7 separate regions of the Homo sapiens genome follow, and regions 1, 2, 3, 4, 6 and 7 are each linked to region 5. The links are contacts of gene promoters, found by promoter capture Hi-C in blood cells and fetal thymus (Javierre and others, 2016). All regions are on one chromosome and are shown on one strand. The core of a region is centred on a gene start or on the middle of the fragment in contact, and the rest is flanking DNA. Distances in the headings are between cores, read along the strand shown.

Evidence for each region. The method cuts DNA at HindIII sites, captures the fragments that hold promoters and counts their contacts. A CHiCAGO score of 5 or more calls a contact.
Region 1: a fragment that was not itself captured here is called in contact with the fragment with the promoter of DGKI in region 5 in 1 of 17 cell types (M1 macrophages); the score reaches 5.4 in M1 macrophages.
Region 2: a contact is called between a fragment that was not itself captured here and the fragment with the promoter of DGKI in region 5, in 5 of 17 cell types (M1 macrophages, M2 macrophages, M0 macrophages and 2 more). The highest score is 13.9, in M1 macrophages.
Region 3: a fragment that was not itself captured here is called in contact with the fragment with the promoter of DGKI in region 5 in 2 of 17 cell types (M0 macrophages and M1 macrophages); the score reaches 7.6 in M0 macrophages.
Region 4: a fragment that was not itself captured here is called in contact with the fragment with the promoter of DGKI in region 5 in 3 of 17 cell types (M0 macrophages, M2 macrophages and M1 macrophages); the score reaches 8.1 in M0 macrophages.
Region 6: a fragment that was not itself captured here is called in contact with the fragment with the promoter of DGKI in region 5 in 3 of 17 cell types (M0 macrophages, M1 macrophages and M2 macrophages); the score reaches 5.5 in M0 macrophages.
Region 7: a fragment that was not itself captured here is called in contact with the fragment with the promoter of DGKI in region 5 in 3 of 17 cell types (M2 macrophages, M0 macrophages and M1 macrophages); the score reaches 6.2 in M2 macrophages.

Annotation. Positions count from the first base shown.
Region 1 is chr7:137,611,634-137,615,140 of GRCh38, forward strand. The region is part of intron 8 of DGKI (diacylglycerol kinase iota); the gene reads right to left. Among named protein-coding and RNA genes, the nearest start is that of DGKI, 230 kb to the right of the region's middle. The HindIII fragment of the contact is 1,064 bases long and covers 761-1,824 here.
Region 2 is chr7:137,654,037-137,657,200 of GRCh38, forward strand. It overlaps DGKI (diacylglycerol kinase iota), which reads right to left. Exons shown (of 33, transcript NM_001321708.2): 4 at 2,430-2,504; 5 at 696-752. Among named protein-coding and RNA genes, the nearest start is that of DGKI, 190 kb to the right of the region's middle. The HindIII fragment of the contact is 7,371 bases long and covers 1-3,164 here.
Region 3 is chr7:137,673,496-137,676,982 of GRCh38, forward strand. All of the region lies in intron 3 of DGKI (diacylglycerol kinase iota), which reads right to left. Among named protein-coding and RNA genes, the nearest start is that of DGKI, 170 kb to the right of the region's middle. The HindIII fragment of the contact is 1,703 bases long and covers 789-2,491 here.
Region 4 is chr7:137,632,285-137,635,356 of GRCh38, forward strand. All of the region lies in intron 6 of DGKI (diacylglycerol kinase iota), which reads right to left. Among named protein-coding and RNA genes, the nearest start is that of DGKI, 210 kb to the right of the region's middle. The HindIII fragment of the contact is 640 bases long and covers 1,120-1,759 here.
Region 5 is chr7:137,845,636-137,848,751 of GRCh38, forward strand. DGKI (diacylglycerol kinase iota) reads right to left here and starts at 1,339. Exons shown (of 33, transcript NM_001321708.2): 1 at 827-1,339. The coding sequence starts at 1,227. RefSeq lists an enhancer at 178-679 and silencers at 1,314-1,363, 1,848-2,142. The HindIII fragment of the contact is 3,155 bases long and covers 1-2,065 here.
Region 6 is chr7:137,710,922-137,714,230 of GRCh38, forward strand. The region is part of intron 1 of DGKI (diacylglycerol kinase iota); the gene reads right to left. Among named protein-coding and RNA genes, the nearest start is that of DGKI, 130 kb to the right of the region's middle. The HindIII fragment of the contact is 737 bases long and covers 1,242-1,978 here.
Region 7 is chr7:137,691,537-137,694,969 of GRCh38, forward strand. All of the region lies in intron 1 of DGKI (diacylglycerol kinase iota), which reads right to left. Among named protein-coding and RNA genes, the nearest start is that of DGKI, 150 kb to the right of the region's middle. The HindIII fragment of the contact is 3,834 bases long and covers 45-3,433 here.

The DNA.
Region 1 (3,507 bases), core at 43-2,542, 230 kb before region 5:
ATGGGACAGTTATGAAGTTATAACCAGCAAAGGTACATGAAGCAGTTAGCTGGGTATTCATCCCACCATGAGCACTTCAGTAAATGTTAGCTCATTCTAAATAATGCCTCATTCTCAGCTGTGTGTCCCCAACACCGAGCACAAATTCCTGGCACATAGTGTACACTCGAATCATTGTTGAAATAATGAACAAATATTCCTATAATTCACAGCATTTACTGAGCCTCTCCTGATTTGGGAAAGGATCCTTGGGAAGTGAATGCTTGCCTCCTAACTTTTTTGTAGTTTTAATTCATTTACTGCCAAGAGCAATGCCAGACACCAAGTGCTTGCAGGAACATGCTATGGACCTAGGTCCTTGACAGGATGTCAGCAATTAAACTCCATGAGACAGATCTAACGCATCAGGCTAAGATTGTTTCCTAAACTTGTCTGATCGTAGAACTCACAGTATTTCAGGTGATTTTGATGATCAAGCACGTATGGGGAGCACAGAGTTAGAAAAACACATTAAAGTAAGGCTTGATGTCTGAAAACAGAGCAGGCAAAGAACTCAATTCTTATAGGGAACAGACACACAAAACGGGCTTTTTTTTTTTTTTTTTTTTTGTAACACAGAGGTAGCAAATACAAGTGCTTCTAGCCTCACCAAACCAAATGCATCTGAGGCCTTCTTCACTTCACAGAACAAGAACAGGGCAGAGACCAAGCACAGTCGTTGACTTACAGTACCTGGACGCATCTATGTGAGCTCTGAGTAAGCTTACAGCCCTACGGATAGTCAAACACAAAAGATAAATAGTAGGAATTTCACAGCATACCTCAAAATCCCATGGCTCCCTTCTATTTTTGTATAAATACATATCTCTATTTTGTATAAATATGTATCTATCTCTACCTCTAGGAACAGATGGGTTTGAAGGCAGATTTTGTATATGTTTTGACCATGATGAAATAAATCACCTACTCTTGATAATCTACAGGATCGCTTATCCTGCCTGGGTCAGTGTTGTTGAGAGAGTTAAACAAAAGAGCACGCTTTTCGAGAATGTTAAAATTATGTCAAGAAGTTACTGTGTAGAATTTGTTGGTGATATATGCAAGAAACCTGTAACACTTGTGCTATGTTCCAAAACAAATCATCTCTATTATATCAAGGGCAGCTAACTCGGTGATAAAAGCATTCGCTTTGCAAGATCAACACTAAAAACACAGTGAAATGCTGTATGTACCCTCACTTGGATTTTTGCATTCTTCTGATTCCAACAGCAGTCGCCCCCTAGACATTCTGTGCCTGCTCTTTTGTTAAAGACCTAAATAAAAAGGCTTTTTGTTTTCCTGTACTTCATACCAGGATAATTGTACCTTGCCACAGAAATAATCCTATCAATAAAATCCTGATCATGCTTATGACTCCTTGCTGGGCTATTAAGAAATAGTTACGGGTAAATCACTCAACTGTGACTGAAACTTAACTACCTCTTATTAATCTTCAGGGATTTTTCCAGGTTATAAGATCACAAATGACTGGTTATAATAACAGATCCCAAGAGAAGAGATCTGTTCGCTCTTCTTTGTCATCCCAAATAAAGTCTCCCCCCCATCATATACTGGACAAAACTCTGGTAGACAGTAGGAGAGAGAGTAATGGACTTAGTCTATTAAAGCGCATTCTTACTCTGCTGGGCTCCCATTGTGCCAGGGAACAAAGGCTGCTCTGAGGATGGGAAGGCAGAAGGATAAAGAAAACTTATTCCAAAAGTTACAGACAGGGTCCCAACAGCTCCAACCAGGCCTATTTGACTAAATCACAAGTACTAATGAAGCTTTAGAATTCACCAAAGGAAATGGTTCAGGCAATTTTGAGGCTAATTTACAGGATATTATTGGTCGTTGCACAAAATTAGCTATTACATTTCATGGGTTCCCAGTATTTTAAGAAGATTATCTAACCAGAAGAGATAAACCAAAAAAAGGGGGACTATTATGAAGAAAGCTCATACAGGGCTATGAAGAAATGAATGCAGCATTGTTTATAAGTAGAACATTAGAAACAATATAAATATCCACCAGTAGGCAGATGGATCAATAAACTAGGATATATCCACAGCATGGGATACATACAGCAATTTAAAAAATGAGTTAAGTCTACATATAATAACAGACTTTTCCCCAAGAATCTTTTTTTACTAAGAAAGGCAAGTTTTAAAGCATTATGTGAAGAATTATTTATTAAAAACACACACCCTTACACTCGAAGTGGTTCTGTATTTCTTCTGTGGGTGCATTTCCATGCATGTAAACGCACAGTAAAAACTCTGCATATATCATAGGAAGAGACAGCGGAGATGCTTATCATTTTAAATGCTGGTGAAAGGAGACTCTCTTATCTGAGATGTTTAATTTTTACAGGGAGCATATTTATATATTACTCATGTTACTACAAACGAAACAATAAAAGATTGAGCACTATCATTCTTTCAAAGAAACCAGCTTGTTCCCACTCAGTACTATGAAGTCACAACAGGCTGTATTAAGGAAAGAGAATGGAGGATCCATTTTATATTCTTTTTAGAAGATAGGAGCAGCCCAGTGAGATTCATGAGAAAGTTACAAAAAAGTGACAGTTTGGAAAATTTAGGGGACCAAGTACAAAATATTTTTTCAAATGATGTCATCTCATGATACATAAGTTTTGTAAAAGCTTTCCCAACTGTGGTCTTCTACAACTTGACCCCACAGAAAATTCACGTAAGTCTCAATCCCTCAGCTCCAAGTATATGCACTGGTATTTGACCATCTTTAACTTGCCTGTCCAATCAAAATATTGTCTAGTAATATTTTCAGTCCGAAAGAGAAACACTGACATTTGTAACTTTAAATATAACTTGGACTTCAAATATATCAACAGATCCAGGCTTGATTCTTAAATTTGGGGTTTTCATTTGAGTTATTTAAAATCATCTATCTTCCATTACCTTTTTATTTCTACAAAATAACTTCTTCATCTCTCTAAATAATGAGGTGATGAAACCTAGCAAATTACCCAAGCAGCCCTCACTCCCTTTAGCATCAAGGTTTCACAGAGCTGCCAATTCCACAGTTGCTCGTGGAGTAAAAATGAAATATGCGGTTTAATTCCAACTCTTTATAAACCATGTCTCCTGACCATGATACCCTCAAATAGATTTCCTTTACTCCTCCTCTCTAGAGTCACTTGTTTAGACACAAATATCCCAAATAAAGCTGACTTTATTTAAAGATCCATCTTAACTGTTCTCAGTTAGTTCTATCAACTTTTACTGTCCTTCTCAACCCGTGTTTCACTGACACTGCCTACATCCTTTAAGGCCTACCACAAATGGCATATTTTCTATTTAGCTTACCCTGATCCCCATGACCGAAAATGCTCCGTACTGCTTCATATTCACACTGTGTTTATACATCTTAGGTAGCACTGACCACTCTCCACCTTGGATAGATAGGCCACCTTGGATGCTGACCATG
Region 2 (3,164 bases), core at 449-2,948, 190 kb before region 5:
AACAAATAAGTGCTGTCTCCTCTTGTCATACCTCTGCTTCCCACTAACACATCAGTAACAACTCTTCATTCTAACTTCCTCTTTACCTGTTTATCTTCACGACCAGACTGGAGGGTCAGGGACTGAGAACTGAATATAGTTCTAGCTTATGATGTATTTATTTTTTACTTAACAAATGAAAACACTGAGATTTAGAGAGCTTAGGTGAGACGCCCAAGATCACACACATCAAGGCTGGTTTTGAAAGCAGACCGTCTGACTCCAGGGCTCATAGGAATAACCAGTTACTGTGCTGCCCCATGAATGGCTTATACCCACTCAAAATTGAAAAATGCACTTAAAATCAACCAGAACACATGGCAACAGAGCGACACTCTGTCTCCAAATAAATAAGTAATAAAAGTCTATTTCTTTCTTACCCCTTCAATTCTATCACTACCACCTTCCTCTAGTCTCTGGTTCATTTGGTAAGACCTTAAACTCCCCAGTACATTTTATGAGAATAAAGTCCAGTGTGCACATGTTGAAAAGACTTGAAGATTTTATTGATTGTGCTTATTGATGTGTTAACAAAAAATTGGCATGCAACAGAAAGAGATAGAATTTATTTTTTATTCCCTGGTGAATATCTATGAATCCACTGAATCAATGAGAAATCAAAGGTGATACTTGAAATCAAGCTCTGAAATACTCACTTCTCTTGGTGACCTTGAGCCTCCTTCTCGAAATGTTGGTTTACATCTGAAATTAATCTGTCATTCAAAAAGAAAAGTATATTATATTAGAGATAAGCATCAGACTAGACTGAATTACCTGAAAAAAAAAAAAACAGTGACAGATATTGAGACTGAAAAGCAAAACCTCCAAAGAACAAGGAATAATACTCTTCTTAGTCTTTTGAAATCATCACATTAGATAATCAACAGAGATCCCAGGTGATTCTATATCTCCAACCCCTTTCCTTCATTCTCACAAATCAAATCTAAGTATCTTTAAACGATAATGCTCTTACACCATAAATTTGAGAAACTGAGATAAGAAAGAGCCAGAGGAAAGATACTGGCAGCTTAAACTACCCAGCTGGGTTTCTGATTGTAAAAGTAGAAAATATAAACTTGAGTTTTTTTAGTATTATGACAATTATTCAAAGACAACAGAGTTATTCTTTTTTTTTTTTTTTGAGATGGAGTCTCATTCTGTCACCCAGTCTGGAGTGCAGTGGTGTGATCTCAGCTCACTGCAACCTCCGCCTCCTGGATTCAAGCAATTCTCCTGCCTCAGCCTCCCGAGTAGCTGGGACTACAGGTGCGTGCCACCACATCTGGCTAATTTTTTGTATTTTTAGTAGAGACGGGGTTTCACCGTGTTAGCCAGGATGGTCTCCATCTCCTGACCTCGTGATCCACCCATCTTGGCCTCCCAAAGTGCTGGGATTACAGGCATGAGCCACCACACCCAGCCCAGAGTTATTCTTTATAAAAGGATTCAGCACTGCTTTTCTTTTAGATGTGGAGGTCTCCTAGTAGGCACATTGACATTTCGGTTAGCTACTCGATAAAGTGAAAGGAGCAAAAGAATGAAGGCAGAGATGAGTAAGTGAAGTTGGGGCAGAAAAGAAAATATTAAGATAACATGTTGGTAGTCATTGCCACAAGATATCAGCTAGGATCAACTGGTCATGTCAGTGAAACTACATGAATGTCATGGGGGACTAAAATATTTCAATGCATTTACCCATGACAGCTCAAGAACATAGATAATACACAGAGAAACACACACATTAAAATGTAGTGGGAAGTGTGAAAGGAAAGAGGATGGCAGGCAACTCACTATTGGAGCCTTTCCCATCCCCTAAATGACAAATAAATGGACTTTGCCGAATCCACTGATTCTGGAGGCACACCACCACCGGGATGTCACTTCCAGCCCCACCCACACATTTGAGCAGCAACAGGAGGAGCACTGCCCCAGCAGAGTGAGAGCCGGCTTCCAGCGTGGCTCGCTCCCTTGCAGGCACTTTAGGAAGACGTAAACCACACAAGTCAGATATATGTGAACAACAATTATAAACAGCTTATAGAACTTCTTCCTTCTTAAACAGCTTGTGGAACAGCCTATGGGTGGATAGTAATGCTTGAACTGAGATGATATAATAAGAGAATCAGTGCACACCAGGCTTTTCCATCTAACTGTGTTCTTCCTTTTCCCAAGAGTCAACGTAAAATGATATCAAATTACACTTCAGCAAACAAGAGAGTGAACGACCCTTAAACATTGTCTTTCCATTAGTAATCTGGTAATAATGTTGGACTTCCAGCTTTTTTTTAAGGGCATTGTTTTCAAAAAGTTGGAACTGGAAATTTACACCGGGCCTCTGAAGACCAAATACTTGCAATGTAACAAAACTGCAGCAGGGGGCGCGCTCTTACCTTTTCTAGCTGCTCAATGCAGGCGGTGTGGACGACGATTTTACAGACTGCACACTTCCTCCTGAGAGCTGATTTCTACAATATTCAATTCAAAAGACAAAAAAGAAATGTTAACAGTCTGTTCTGAAGAGTTCCCTAGTATTAAAGTGGGCATATATAATAAATACATAAATACAGCAAACATTGTAATTATTTCTATTACAAAGCAAATTTAAAACTTCATCTTAAATATTGAATAAACTGACAAACTTTATCAACAGTCTCTGCACTCACCAAGTAGCTCCACATCTGCATGATTTAGGGTGGGCTAGATTGTCTCTTCAAATAATAATAATAATAGCTCCAATATTTTGAGCATATAACAAGAACTGGCTCTTTGTTCTGTCATTTCTAAGTTTCAGAACCTTACAATATAGGCATTATTCTCTTCCATTTTAAAATATTTTCTACATTATCACTCAAGTAGCTAAGGGGCAAGACCAACATCCAAACTCAGATCTAAGTTGAAAACAGGCATTCTTTCCCTATTGCCAAAGAGTCTAGATTTCCAGGGGCCAGTCATTTTAGGCTTCTATCCCAGGCATGAGTCTAGACTAAGTTACTTCGGTTTCTGCCCAAATCTTCCAGAAGTAAAGGAAGGCAAGTTCAGCTTTTACGCCCAGGAAACAATAATAAGAATAGCAACAAAAGCAGGAAACGCTGCTAATAGGAATATAGTATTTGCTATCTGTTCTT
Region 3 (3,487 bases), core at 390-2,889, 170 kb before region 5:
TTGACTATAATGCTCATCCAGAAATAAGAATCGCTGTGGTCTATCTCAGTAGCAATACTTTAAATCAGGAAACTGAGGCAAAAAAAGGCAAAGTGATATGTCCCAACTTTACTCAGTACATAAATGGAACAGCAGGTTTTCAAACCCAGGTCAGTCCACACAAAGTCTATTTCCTTCTGACCACCCATGCTACCCATCTGTGCCTATTCAGGTCTGTGTGACCACGGTGGGTGTATAATTTGCATATCAATGTAGGCAAGTTTCTTTCAAGTCTGAGTAGGTGCACGATGGTATGGACTCCAGGGATTACTACTGGAGGGGTGAGCTCCTTTAGGTACAAATATTTGGCTAAACATGTTTGTATAGCCTAGCCCCAGAGCATGAGAACAGTTTCTATCTGGCTGTGCCCGCTAAACGGTGAGGCACTGGGTACTCAACCCAGCTCACAAACACTGACAGAATAAATGAATGAATAAATGAATAAATGTACATAAAAATAAATGTCACCAAACGACAGTGATTCTGGCTGGAATTTTATTTCAGGTTTCCAGTGCCCATAATCAGGTTGGGAAACAGTGATCTTTCTACTTCAATTTCATTACTTTTGCATCCTTTTATATTTTATCTAGACCAGAAAAAGAAACAGTTGCTAATTTGGGAACTGTTGCCAATTTGGGAACAAATTTAATTCCATTACGTATCTGCTCACAGGTATTCTACAGTATTAAATGTTGCCACCAGAGAGCTGTAGAACAGGAAAAGGTCACGTGGTTTAGTTTTAGCCCTGAAGCTTGGGAACAAACTCTCCTACAGCTGTTCTAGGGTTTTGGAAGTCATTGCCTGGCTTTCAGTACCCTCCAATATCAGTCCCCAAATATCAATCCACATGGCAGCAGGAGGTCCCGGCTTTGCAGGACAGTTTTAGTTTTACATAGATGCCCTAATGTCCCATAAGCTAGGGTGATGCAGTTCTGGTTTATCCCTAATGTTACGGCATCATTATTAACAGCAGCCACTTTCACCCTCAAAAGTGTCTTGGTTTAGACAATGTATTCTATAGTCATGCTTCCTAAGCCCACCAGTATTTACAATATGCACTCCAAGTTTTGTTTCAAAAAACCTAACTCCATTCTTACTTCCATTTTTCTCTGACACATGCTCATGCACGGCTCATGATTGCCACCTCGTTTGTACAGAGCTTGCCCCACCTCTGAGTCTGCTCATGTTCCTCTTCCCTGCCCGAAATGTTCTCCTTCTTCAAAATCACTTATGTAAATCTTACCCATCTTTCAAAACTGAGCTCGAACCCCATTTCCATGAAGCTGCCTCTGTCTGCTTCAACCCACACTGACTTCTTCCTTCTCTTAACTTCTACTTGTGACATTTGCTTTGCTAAAATAGGGAAGGAGTGAAAGGCACATCGTAGATGATGGATTCACTCCTCCCCTGAGCACTCTGCCTGTACTTTGTTTAGGAGCCTGCAGGTAGTACCTGGTTATGGTAATTTAGTCCCAGCCCCAACAGGTAGGCTTTCTTCAAAGGTGGTTCATTAAAAGAAATTAGAATATAAATACATGATCTGCTTATGCATACTTTTTTCCCAAAAAAGACTGTTGTTCTAAGAAAACTGCAAACAGAGCATTTAAACTAAAGACTCGCCTGGAGATCTCTGTGACCTCTTGCCCAAAGCAGCTGAGAGTCCCCAACTACAGCATCCTTGAAACATGGCCACCCACGTTATCCACAAACACACATCCCACCAGTCAATCTCTCCAGGCACCTTGTTCGCTTGCTGGGAAGCTCAGGCTGACAAAGTTCTTTCTTATCATACGGTATTTCTCAAAGTTAGGTTTGCGACCCATCTGCATCAGAATTATTTGAGGTGCTCGTTAAAATCACAGACTCCCAGCCAGGTGTGGTAGCTCATGCCTGTAATCCCAGCAATTTGGGAGGCCGAGGCGGGTGGATCCCCTGAGGTCAGGAGTTTGAGACCAGCCTGGTCAACCTGGTGAAACCCCGTCTCTACTAAAAATACAAAAATCAGCTGGGTGTGGTGACTTGCACCTGTAACCCCAGCTACTCAGGAGGCTGAGGCAGGAGAATTTCTTGAACCCGGGAGGCGGAGGTTGCAGTGAGCCGAGATCACACCACTGCACTCCAGCCTGGGCAGCCGAGCAAGACTACATCCAAAAAAAAAAAAAAAAAAAAAAAATCGGAGACTCTCAAGTCCAACTCCAAGCATACTGAATCAGCATTTGGAGCAAAGAGGGAAACAGGAGTGTGCATTGTTAGGTTTCCCAGGTAATGTTTGTTTATTGTTATAAAGTTAGAGTCAGTGGATTCTACCTCTATGACTTTTCCATTTCTAACAACAGATAGCAAGTCACTTCTCTTTTCTTCAAATTAACTCTTCAAATACTGGAAGACATCTCTCTGCCTTCGCTCCTAATACTCAGCTGTAGCCCATGTAACCTAACATTTCTTTACAACAAGCTTCCATCCCCTAAACCAACTTGGGCACCCCACTCTGGGTCCTCTGCTGCTTGCCAATGTCTCTCTCAAAATGGGATGCCCAGAGATGACATGCGCCTCACAGTGCGAGGTGGGGAGAGAGACTGAGAGGATTTTCAGTGCTTTCAGTACACACTGCCAATTTTGTGAAGGACAGTGTATCTACTTACACTCCTGGCAGCTGATGATGAGCCTGCCCATTTCAGCCTAAACCAACCAGCAGCAACTATTACCATTTTATAAATCTTTGCTAATTTAATAGGCACATGAAGTTGACTCCTGAGTTGTTTTAATTGGGATGCCTTTGTATTCTTCAGATATCTATTGGCAATTGGTAGTTCTTTTGTAAATTTCCTGTCCTTGTCCTTCCTGGGTTTTTTCTTTTTTTTCTTTTTTTGCCTTTAATTCATTAGGTCAGTTGCTGAGCCAAGTAAGCCCTTTCTATGTATCATCTCACCAAACCCTCAAAACAGTGTTTCCCCCACTTTATAGGTAAAGAAACTGAGCTTCAAGAAACTTACAGCAGTTAGGTCTTCAGCTTCCTCACTGATTTATTCCTTCATTTAACCAACATTTTTTTGGAGGAGAGTTCTTCATCTTTCAGACGTTTTGTAATATGAGTTAATAGGGCCAAGTACCTGGTATGAAATTATGAGGAAGCTTCAGAAGGAAACTGGGAACGTTCTCAACTCTGTTTCTTCCTACTTCTACCTAAAATTTCCTTTATTCTCCTTGTTGCTTTTCCTGGCCTAAAGGTATTAGTGAACAAGTAATAATCATTCAGTGGATAGCAATGCTATTTACTGATACAAGGTTTAAAGAGGATATACGTATCTGTTCATATATTTGTCAAGAGAGGTAGCCATCCCCTAAAAAGTAACAGAAAGGGATTAAAGGGAGCAATTTGGAAATAAGGGATGACTCTGTATAAAATCATAGTCCATCAGTAGAAATTGTTCAAAAGTATATATGTAAG
Region 4 (3,072 bases), core at 190-2,689, 210 kb before region 5:
CTCTGTTTCTCGACCTAAGCTAGTTTTCAAAGACAGAATCCATTGATTGAAGGAGAGGGTAAGTCCCCAGGAGAAGAATCTTACAATAACACAGCAAGAGTCTATGGTAACACTTTTCTGGTCTTTAACTAAAAGGACCTACATCCATTAACTTGGGTAGTTGTATGCTGAGGAGAGAGAGAAATGTCCAAATATTCTAAAGACTAATGGACAACTGTACAAGTTGACATGTATACCCTGGGTATGAAGCAGCACCAGGTATCTAATGGTCCCCTATTAAAATAAAGATACAGGCCGGGCATGGTGGCTCACACCTGTAATCCCAGCATTTTGGGAGGCCAAGGCGGGCAGATCACGAGGTCAGGAGATCGAGACCATCCTGGCCAACATGGTGAAACCCCGTCTCCACTAAAAATACAAAAAAATTAGCTGGGCGTGGTGGCACACGCCTGTAGTCCCAGCTACTCAGGAGGCTGAGGCAGGAGAATTGCTTGAACCCAGGGAGCAGAGGCTGTAGTGAGCCGAGATCATGCCACTGAACTCCAGCCTGGGTGACAAAACAAGACTCTGTCTCAAATAAATAAACAAACAAACAAACAAACAAACAAACGTGAGGCCCAGTTAAACAAAAAAAAAGCAGGAGTCTAACCAGGGGCAGTGGCTCATGCCTGTAATCCCAGCACTTTGGGAGGCCGAGGTGGGCAGATCACCTGAGGCCGGGTGTTCAAGACCAGACTGACCAACATGGAGAAACCCTGTCGCTACTAAAAATACAAAATTACTCGGGCGTGGTGACGCATGCCCATAATCCCAGCTACTTGGGCCACTGAGGCAGGAGAATTGCTTGAACCCAGGAGGCGGAGGTTGTGGTGAGCTGAGATTGCGCCATTGCACTCCAGCCTGGGCAACAAGAGCGAAACTCGTTCTCAAAAAAAAAAAAAAAAAAAAAGCAGGAGTCCTAGACCAGGGCTGGTTTTCAGAGAGTCTACTGGTTCCACAAATCCATCAGTATTAATTTCCTTTGTCCTCAATTGTGTAAGTGGAGTGAACAGACTTGGAAACTGGCACAACCCCAAGACTGGTTTCTTGGTCTGTTGTGTAAGAGGAAGCCCAAGTGAAAGCTTCAAACCATCCTTCTAGCCATAACTAAATCAAAATCAATGTCACATTCTTAAGAAGTAATAGGCATTAAATTTATCTTAATTTTGAAAGCTCTGACGATGGTATTGTGTTTACATTTCCAAAATTATCTAAGTGCCACCCTTAAAGACTAAAGGAAGCAGGAGGCAGAGGTGGTGTACTCCAACATATCCCCATTTAATTCACCAGCTGAGATCCCATAAAACCAAAGACTGGAGAATGGTGCCTGAATATCACAAATTTAACCCAGTACACTCTATTTGCAGCCACTGTGCCAAATTTAGAATATTTCAGCCTTAAGTACATGACATTTGGCAAATGAATTTTTTCCATCCCTCTCTGAAAGGAGAATTCAAAACTATTTGCAAGTGCTTTCAGGGTTAACAGTACATTTTTACAGGCATGTACCAGGGCTTTCAACTCTTCTGAATGTTATCCAGATCTAATGCAAAGGAACCCGAACTGTGTGAACATTCTGTAGAACATCATTTGGTCCACCATATCAGCAGCATCACATTAAAGCAGATGAGCAAGAAGTGGAAGGTACATCAGAGGTCCTGGTGAGAAGAAAGGTGGGACATAAGCCCTATGAAGAGTCAGGGGTCCCCCATGTCAATGAAGCTTCTAGGGGTCAGTAGTCCAAGGTATGCTAGAATATCCTCTCCAATCTAAAGAAAAAATTATTGCATTTCATAATTTAAACCACTAAGAATGAAACACAGCACTTTATTTGGCCTTTCTGGGTTCTGGAGGCAGCACATTCTACATTTAGGAATGTGATCCATTTATTGGATGACATTAAATGCTGCCAGCTTAGAATGGGGCCCAGAGCATGAAACAGTGCTGCAGCAGGTCCAGCCTGCAATGAAAGAATCCCTGTCACTCCATGTGATTAGAAATTTAGAGAAGGAGAAAAGATGCCCTGTGATGCTTATAACAAGCACCAATAGGAAAATCAACACAGACTCTAGGATTCTGAAACAAGGTTGTGCTATCTGCAAGAGGGAACTATACACCTTTCAAAAATATTTTCTGGCAGGTTACTGTACTCTGGTGGAGAAATACCTGTCCATGAATCATCAGGTGTCATGAGCTGAGTTCTGTCAGATCACTACATCATAAGGTTGAGTGAGCCCAGCCTTAATCCATTGTTATAGTAAGTGGGACCATCTGAGATCTGGAACAAGCAGTACCAGGGATGCATGAGTAGGTGGCTCAGATCACCCACATTATCCACTATTATTACAGTACCAGGTCTCTCATTCAACTCACCTCTGGAAAAATGGGAGTACTGAATGACGAGCTCAAAGAGGAGGAAAATGCTGAGATTGGTTCATGCATGGATCAACTTGGTATATACGTCCAGGCCAAAAGTAAACTACTGCTGCACTGAAGCCTACTCAGGAGTGGGTCCTAGAGACAGGAATAATAAGAAATCCTCCTCATGGGCATAACTTCAGGTGAAGCAAATTGTCATCCCATTTATGTGAAAAGATAGGTGGCTTGACATAGAATATATAATGATGCACAGGCAGTGATAAATGGCAAGGCTGGTTGGCCAGGGCCCTGGAGGGAAACAGGAGGTCTAGGGAAGAGGTATAAGGAAGGACATATGAAAGTAAGTACAAAGAGTGAAGATTATTGCACATTAATTCCTACCAGAGAGCTTTCCCTTTGTAAGAACTAAAATCTTAGACACAACGCAGGTACCATACTGTGTCATGAGCCATCCCATTGATGGATGGTGCAATGGGCTTGTAAGTGCAGTACCCTTGGTGGAGTGATGGATGCTATATGTGGGTCCAATAGCATGGGTGGCCAGTCACCAAAACTGAGCTGGCTCCTGCCACTGCTGAATTTCTAACCTGCCAGCAAAAGACACCAAAGCTGAGAATCCAATATTGCATCATCCCTCAGAGAGAACAACCAGCT
Region 5 (3,116 bases), core at 89-2,588:
ATCCTAATTCCTCGTTGTTGGATTCTAATACAATGTGGGGTTATCTTTTATCCTAATTTAAAGGCCATTGATCCCACACTGTCCTTGTCTTACACATACACTCATCCTTAGGTGCAAATATGGTCCCCACTCTCACCTTCACCCCTAGCTTGCCAGCGGGCTCCCCACACCCTCCTCCAGCCAGGAGAGAGGCAAGGAGCACGCAGGCATGGAGCCCCCATAACCAGTGGCGCATCTACAGACATAAACCCACTCTTCCTTCATGGGGGATTTCGAGGCAGGTCCAACTTCCATAAGGATTTCTCTTCAGTGTAGTGCTATTCTTTTCTGCCTGTCGGAGTGATCTCAGCTGTCAAGTTAGTGCCAAAGGTTCATCCAGCGAAATCTGGAAGGTGGGGGAAGGGTGGTTGAAGATGACACCTGCTTAGGGGCAACTTTGACGACTTCTCTTAAGAAAACTAAGCATCACTGAGTCTGCAACCCTTTCTCTCTCTCTCTTTCTCTCTCTCTCTCTCTCTCTCTCTCTCACACACACACACACACACACACACACACACACACACACACAGACAAAATTTCTGTTGCTCTGACCTTAGGGACCCAGTGCTTCTCTCCTGCCACAGGGGAAAGCAGGCGTTGCTGCCCTCCAGCCTGGAATGATAGGATGGGGAGAAGACAGACATCCCCGGGAGGAGAGGGGGAAAGGGGGAAGGAGAGGCGTGGAAACAGAGAGGTGCCCAACTCCGCGGAAGCGCCCCTTGCTGGGTAGAAGAGTGGGTCTCCCGCCGCGGCGCACCTGTCTCGGCTGCCGGCTCCCCGCACCTACCTGTACGAGACCTGCTTCCGGAAAGTTAAGTTCCTCAGCTTCTCCTCCAGCGCTTCGTCCTTCTCCTTCTGGCCGGCGGCCGCGGGCTCGTCCAGGGCAGCGGCCCCCGCCGCCGCGGCTGACCCTGCGCCCCGCGGGTCCGCGCCGCCCTCGGCGCCCAGGCAGCAGCTCCCGGCGCCGCTTCCGCTGCTGCTGCTGCCGCCCGTCGCCCCTTTCTCCTCTCCCGCCGAGGAGCTGGGGTTCATGGCGCCCGCTCCGGCGGCCGCGGAGGGAGCGCAGGCGGCGCCGCTGCAGGGGCCGGGCGGGCTGGCGGCGGCGGCGGCGGCGGCTGCAGGAGCGCGGGCAGGTCCGCGCGCCGCTGGCAGGGGCAGCAAATGGCAGCCCCTTCCCGCAGCATCCATCCGCGGCTGCACCGCACCGGGGCATTGTGGGAAACTCCGCTCACTCCCCCGCCCCGGCCAATCAGAGGCCGCCGCTCCCCGCCTCCCGCGCCCTCCCGCGCCGGCCCGCACCCTCCAGCCCCGCCGGCCTCTTCCTAAATCCCGAGCGAAAGCCCAAGCTGAACATGAACTCTGCCCGGAGGCGACGGGCTGCGGCGGAGGGGGAGAGAGAGGAGGACAGGCTGCGACCCCGGGCTGGGGACGCCAGGGCAGGGACAGCGAGCATCAGGAAGGAGAGCGTCCGGGGAACTCGAGTGGCCGCGCCCTGGGTCCTGCACCGTGAGGCTGGGGGGACCAGGACCGGCGGGCGCCCACCTTGGTCCTGAGCCCAGCTGCCGACGCTGGGCCAGCACCCTCTCCACCGCCGCCCTCCAGTGAGCAGAGCTGGGCTCAGGCAGCAGCCCCTGGGCGCGGGAAGGTAGCGGGAGCTGCATTTAGGGGAGGGGGGAGGTAGCAGGAGCTCCGCCAGTGGGAACCTTGGAGTGAATTCGTCGGCGGGTGCCAAGTCGAAGCGCCGACCTCCTGTCTCTGGACTGGGGCCCGGACCCCTGCGTCCCCAAACTGCGTCCCCGCCTTGCTCGTCGCCCGGTGCCTTCCTTAGGCGCAGCAGACCCTCGGTAAACAGCGGTTAATTCGATGGAATCGGATCACAGGGCCCTCGGTGAAGCAGAAAGGCGGAGGAAATCCAGGAGGCAGAAGTGAGGACCCTGGCGCCTGGCGCCGCTGCGTTGTTCGTATAAGAAGAGGCATCCCGGAAGGGGCTTCAAACCACTTAGGACCGACTGCTGAAACGAATCCAAGCTTGTGGTGTCTGCAGAATTTAACTGTCCGCCTCAACCCCAGTTTTTGTTTCTAAGATTATCGAAAACTGTGCGGTTTGAGTGATGTGCTACAAAGTGTTTAAAACAGATTGTTTCCCAAATTAGGGGTTTCCACACAAGAAATCGCTGCTGTCGGCAAACACAGGAACTATCTATGGTTAAGACAAGGTGGTGTTCGTAACCAAACTATAAACCTACATATACGAGGTGGTAAGAGAACCAGACCAATGAACAGTTTCAGGCTGGCGTGGTGTGCCCGTGAACAAAGAATTGTAATACTGGCAAAAATCTAAATTGCTTTCTTTCCCTTTATTTTCTCATCACTAAAATTAGGAAAATGAACAGATATGTCAAATCTCTTCTAACACCCATGTTCTGTAACTCTCCTCGTATGTACCTTATAATAAGACAAAGGTAAAGACATTTCCATGTGCAGCGAGGAAAAGTAATAATAAAAATTAAAACAACTAGCAAGTATGAAGCCCTCTTTTTATACGGTATGTGCTGTATAAGCACTTCCCTCATCCACCTCTATGTTTTCACAGCACCTCTCAAGGGCTTGGACACGTGCAAATGCAAACTGGCAAAGCCAGGAGTCAAGCCAGGCTGCTCAGTGGCCTTTGTGCTTCACCCCAGTTTAATGCACCCGTCTTCAGAAGGGACATCGTGTATTAGGTGCTTCAACACAAGATCCACGAATATCTCGTACATCCCTAAAATCAAGCAAATGTCATCTGAACCCAATTACTGGGACAGCCCCCTCATTACTCCCACTTACTTTTAGCCGTATCTTCCCCAATCCAATCTCAAGTGTGAGCCCCAAAATACTTCTGATTTTTCACGCCTCCACTTAAAAATCTTTTGATTATGTCATATTGCCGTTAGGGTAAAGTTCAAACAACTCAGCTGATTTTGAGGGCTACATTGGTGGGTGGTGGAGTACTGCCCGCTTTCCCTTCATACTGTCATGACAGTGAGGTTCTGAACTGTTCTTTGTGCAAACCCCACACGCTCTCTGCTCTCTCCATT
Region 6 (3,309 bases), core at 360-2,859, 130 kb before region 5:
CCAAAGATTTGAACAGGTAGTTTACAAAAGGAGAAACCAAATATTAACAGTAAAAAAAGAAAAACATGTTCAGATCCATCAGATAACTGGAAATTCATCCCCGTCCTCCTCCTCCCCCTTTTCTTCTTTCCTCCTCATCATTCCTCTACCACTTTAAACTAAACAGACTGACAAAAATTTTAAAGTGTGACAATATTACCTCTTGGCAAGATATAGAGCTTACATACTGTCACAAGGAGGACAACATGGTTCATCACTATGGAAAACAGCTTGCTGTTCTATAGGAATATTGAAGGTGCACATAAACACAGGAATTATACTCCAGGATATGCACCCTAGATAATCTCTGGTATATACACACAAGATGATAGTTAAAATATCATATCAGCACTATTTATTACAGAAAAATATAAAGGCAACTCAAATGTCAGATGAAAGCAGAACAGATAAATACATTGCAATATAGTCATACAATGAAATAATACTCTTTACAAATGAAAATAAATGAACTACAGTTGCATAGAACAAAACATATGAAACTCAAGAACACAGTGGTGACTAAAAGTGTTAATTGCAGATTGCACACAGTAGTATTTCATTTACATAACATTTTAAATGCAAATAGAGCTATACTATGTATTCTTGACAGGGGGCATGGAACAGAGGGGAAGAGCACAGAATTTGCAGTCAGACTGCCTGAACTGGAATTCGGGTTAATCTCTATATATCTTGATTTCCTCATCCGTAAAATGGGGATACCAACTTTTTTTTTTTTTTTTTTTTTTTTTTTTAAGACGGAGTCTCGCTCTGTCACCTGGCTGGAGTGCAGTGGTGCAATCTCGGCTCACTGCAACCTACGCCTCCTGGGTTTAAGCGATTCTCCTGCCTCAGCCTCCCGAGTAGCTGGGATTACAGGCGCCCACCAACACACCCAGCTAGTTTTTGTATTTTTAGTAGAGACGGGGTTTCACCACGTTGGCCAGGATGGTCTCAATCTCTTGATCTCGTGATCCGCCCACCTCTGCCTCCCAAAGTGCTGGGGATTACAGGCGTGAGCCACCATGCCTGGCTGGGGATACCTGCTTCTGAGGATTGCTTTTGAGTTAAATGAATGTATGGCATTTAAGTGCTTGGCACATAGAAATCACTATATGAAAGTTTTATGCTGCTATCATTAGTAAAGATACAAATATTTGGTTAAATGTTAATAAAAAGCAAGGGAACAATAAGTGAAAAATTTAAGCTTATTGGGGATGCTCAGGAATAGATTAAGGAAAATAAGCAACAGACTTCAGAGGTTATTACGATGGTACCCTTTGTTATTAAAATGGGTAGGGAATACTCAGATATTTGTTGGGTTATTACCCTTTATAATTTCCAAATATTTTGTTGTATCCTACTATATATTCTCTTCTCAATAAAAATATTTTAACCAAGCATCAGATTTATTCTAATTATACATTTAGAACATTTCATGTTTTGTGTTCTAATCAAAATTGAAAGTGTGCCATATTAACAACAAATTCTAGTAATGATCTCAAGAATGTGCAATAATAAAAATATTTTAAGCATTATAAAATTAGGAATAGAAAGATATGTAAGCCTTTACACAGTCAAATTGCTGCTGTCCAAAGCTGTCACCCTAGAAAATACACACTACATCTCTCCCAATAGCAAATGGTATTTAACTGAGATTCCAGTATCTTGTTTAAAGCATTGAAGATTCCTCTTTTGGAAATGCCTCCTGAACCTGCAGGCACTCTTTGGAAGATTCTGAATGTTAATAGTCGTCATATTTTGAGGATAGATTTCATTTTATTCCAACAGCAACAAGTTATTTGAAACTAAGTTTGATGGATGAGATAGGTGAGTTAGCTGTATGATAGACAATTGAGATGATGATATGTTTCATAAAACAGTTTCTCCAAGTAATTCCAAAGAATAATAGACTTTCAGGGTTAGCAAATAATCAAATTCAAGCTTCCTCGCCACTTAGCAACTTGTTCTGCGAAGAATCCTGAAAAATGGTCAGCCAGCTTCAGCTTGGAATTTCTAAGTAACAAAGATCTAGACAAAACACCCTAGAGCACAAGTGGTGAAAGGCTAATTGCCACAGTTTCTAAACTTATAATCTTTATATTAGTTGATATGGGACCATCGTTCCAGTCTATGGATATCTAAATCTGATTTCTATCACCATGTGTCTCAGCTGTCTTTCCCAGAGGAGAATAAGAGCAAGTTGATAAGTTGATAAGCATTCATGTATGATTCACCTGTCATTGATAAACATAGCAACCAGCACAGAACCAACTGCAGGACCCCTGCTCAAATAGATACCTGGCTCCAGCTTGGAATTAATTTATAATATTCACATAGGGTGGAGTAGGGTGGGATGTAACATTTGTGATTTGGCCTAATTTTAGCCTATCTATATGTTTCTACCTTAACCACAGGGAAATCACAAAATATTATCAGATACATTGCTGAAATTTAGACACAAGTTGTCTATGGAATTTTCCAAAGCTATCACTATAATAACCCCATCCAATAAATGAAATGAGACACATAATACACATTTATTTTTAAGGAACTCATGCTAGCTCTTTATGACCACTATTTTCTTTTCTAATTCTACATAAAACATCTGTTTAATTACTGTTAGGATAATTTTGTAGAGGTTGCCATTAACTTATTAAGCTGTAAGTTAACCTACCCAATTTTTTTTAATTTTTATTTTAGAGACAGGGTCTCTTTTTGTCACTCAAGCTGGAGTGCAGTGGTGCAATCATAGCTCACTGCAGCCTCAAATTCCTAGGCTCAAGCAATGCTCCCACCTCGGTGCCTCAAGTAGCTAGGACTACAGGCATACATCACCATCTCTGACTTATCTATTTATTTGTAGATATGGGATCTCACTATGTTGCCCAGGTTGGTCTCAAACTCCTGGCCTCAACTTATCCTCCCACCTCAGCCTCCCAAAGCACTGAGATTATAAGGCATGAGCCACTGTGCCTGGCCACTTGCCCAATTTTGAATGGGGATATTTTCTTACCACCAATTTTTCAGAAACTCTCCCATTTCTACTATTTCTCAGACATTATTGACCCATAGTCCTATGACCAAATTTATAGGATCTCTTACTATCTGTGGTATAATTTATTTGAATGTAGAAAACTTCACTCTTCAAAGAAAGTAGTTTTTTTAATAGATTCTTTCTGATTTTGGATTATTTGCTATTATCAATATTGATTCCTTTTTCCAGTTTTAAAATAATTATCCTAATTGAATTAAAACAATATTGGGCATAAA
Region 7 (3,433 bases), core at 712-3,211, 150 kb before region 5:
AACTTGCCCCATATAAACGGGAAGGAATAGGAACAGAATTTAAAAGCTTTCTTGAACCCTGAAGGGCAGGTAATCTTTTCATCCTGCTCAGCGACCTCTGCAAACTCCCTCCAAAAAATAATTTGTAAAGTTGAGCAAGATGAACAGTAGCCCCCAAGCCTGAGGAAACACTGAGTAGAAGCCAGTAAGAATCCAGGATTGTGCAACCATTAATCAATTACCAAGTATGTCAGAGAGCTCAGCAAGTGTCTAGACCTTTGGGTTTTTTTTTTTTTTTTTTTTTTTAAGCCTCTTGTATTCCTATACAGGAAGTCCCAGATATAGGGGGTAGGTCTTCAGTAGTTAGAAGCGATCACATCGAGCTTGCTGGTAGCCTACTTTCAAAAGCTCCCACTGGGTAACAGACAATTTACTTGCTTTATATAATCCCCGAAAGGGTCATTATGAAGATGGAGGCCTTTAATGATGACACAATATTCTCGTTCCTCACTTTCACCAAGGCAAATAATTAGCAACATCAATTTTGGCCCCTCACCCCAAAGCATATTCCATATCATCGAGCAATAAGAAAGTAACAGTGGAAGAATCTTATACAGTGATCTTTCATCTCAAAACAGTTTTCCTCCACCTATGTTGAAGGAACTTCTTTAGCATTTTTATTAGGATTTTCTCTGGCTTTGAAGGGCTCTGTATGGGGACTCTGAGCTACAGTTTTCCTCATAAGAAAATCAGATCTCTGAAGAGTCAGAATACACAGGTTCTACATTTGATTCCTTAACAGTCACCACAACCTAAATTAAGTGTCCTTACAAAAAATACCAAACCACACCCAAGTGCAAACTCTTAGAATGGCTGAAGAATTTCTAAATCTTGGTTTAATGAGAAAAACACAGATCTTTCATTTTTTCATTAACTGTCCCAGACAGTTTTGATACAAAAAAATTTTTTTAAGAGAGGAAACAAAACGCTACTGTCAGGCACCAGTAGAAACCACAGGGCAAATGAGTTTAACTCATCAGAACTTGTAGACTCTGACCGCCAAAACCCGGTTACTCTTCCTAATTAGGACTGCCAGGAGGAGCCAATTGCTGAAATAATCAAATTAGGATTCAAGGATGCAAGCCACGTGTGTCTATGAAAGATAATGTGGCTATATGATAAAGAGACATACAAACATTTAACCCTGAAAGAAATTACAGTCAAATCACACTCTTTTCTAGCCTGGGAATAGAAACAAGTAAGGCCTTTTTGTTGATCACTTATTTCTCTTTGTGGATACAAATTTAAGGTTGGTTTTATGTCTACACACATAAACATTAATTAGGAGAAAAAAATAAGTAAAAAACATGAAAGTGGCTGCCAGTTTGTAACTCTAATTGCCCTCACAAAAGGACATACAAATAGAAAAAATATATTTAGGTACAACAGGGTGTACGAAATAACTTCTGATTAGAACTTTCCATTCTTTTAAATAACCATGGGAGAAAATCCTTTTCTCCAATAATTCATACATGCATACACATTTTCTTCCAAAATAAGAAAATAGTTTTATTATATCTCAGACCTCAAATATAAGTTAGCGAAAGTTATTTTTCTATTTGAATTTATCTTGCTGGTAGATGACGAATTTAAGAGTCTAGTAGAACTTGGTGTGTGGTTGGGAGTGGGATGAGGGGGCAGTAGTTTTATGCTGCAATTTGCTCCTATTAAAAAAAAATCAATGGGGTTTCAACTTGTTCTTTCCTTCTGCTCAGAATCCTCTCAAGCCCACGGTCAGCAAAACCATGAAATGCCAATGATTCTTTCTATTAATTTCACAACAACGCTTCATAGGAGATGGCTATAATCACAAATGCTTCTTTGAAAAGAACTGTGATATTAACTGTGAAATAGATATGAAAAGAAAATATCCTATAATGCAGTTTCAATAATACAACATCACAGTTAATATCAATTACCTGAAAGACCTCTAATATATTTAAAATATAAAAGCCATTATACATTTTAAGTAGCATCATATTATTTTCTTCACTTCATTCAATAAGACTATAAACTCCTAAAGGACAGGGCTCAATCCATCTACTAATCTTAATTACATTCCAGCCCTGGGGTAGACACAGTCTATATTCAAGAAATGCTTTCTGAGTTAATGAATGAACTTGACCAAGAAGCTAAGAAAAACAGCTTGCTGATTAGATCAAGGGTTGAGAAATCTGATTAGGATGATTTGAATTATATCCCATGCCTTACATTTCAGTGATATTCTTGCCTGAGAGAGTCAGAAATCCTTCATAGCAGCTCTTTAAAAATAAATGCAAATAAGGTAGAATCCAGTGTTAAGAAGCCTAAGAAACATCAAAACGGCTTTGTGTGGTCAACATTAAAATGGAATCCCTTTGCCACATTCGTAAAGGGCATATGATAGTGTTAATATTTTTACAATGTGTTTAATGAAACATGTGGCATATACTCTTCATAAATAGAAATTTAAAAATTTATGGAAGGCCGGGCACGGTGGCTCACGCCTGTAATCCCAGCACTTTGGGAGGCCGAGGCGGGCAGATCACAAGGTCAGGAGATTGAGACCATCCTGGCTAACACGGTGAAACCCCATCTCTACTAAAAATACAAAAAATTAGCCGGGCGAGGTGGCGGGCGCCTGTAGTCCCAGCTACTTAGGAGGCTGAGGAAAGAGAATGGCATGAACCCCAGGGGGCGGAGCCTGCAGTGAGCGGAGATCGTGCCACTGCACTCCAGCCTGGGCGACAGCGAGACTCCGTCTCAAAAAAAAAAAAAAAAAATTTATGGAAAACATGCAAATAAGCCAGAGATACCCTTTTCTAATTACCCACTTTGCAAATTTCTCTCAATTTCCTCTGGTTCCAGTTTCAGTCTGATTGTAGGTTTATGTGGCTCCCGTTTTCTATCTATCCTCATCTTGCCAGCTCCCTCTCTGGGTGATGCTGCACGTGAGAACAGAATCAGGATTCTTCTTGCAGAGCAGAAAAGCACCAGAGAATCAGGAAGTCTCTTACCCAGAACACCTCCTAAAGATTGACACATTAGAGACTGGTGAACTCATCCTGTTGTTCTAGAAAAGGAACCAGCTGTCTAAGAAGTTACTCAGTGTCTTGGTTTGATTCCCCAAGAGAGTTCTTAATCACCTAGTGTGTTGTTGTCTTTTTTCTTATACCATATGGGCACTAACTTTGCTTGTCTTCAAAGCAGCTCACAGTGCTTTTTGGCTGACTTAGACAAGCTGCCTACAATGTAAAGGATAGTCCACGCAATAAAAAAATTGTCCCAAGCCCCGCACAAACTTCACCTCTGATTTATGTCAGGGAACAAACTGTGCGTAATTATTTGAGCCTAAATCCTACTTCATATTATATATGAACTCAAAGTACTTTTTGATTATTTTAATGTACATTGA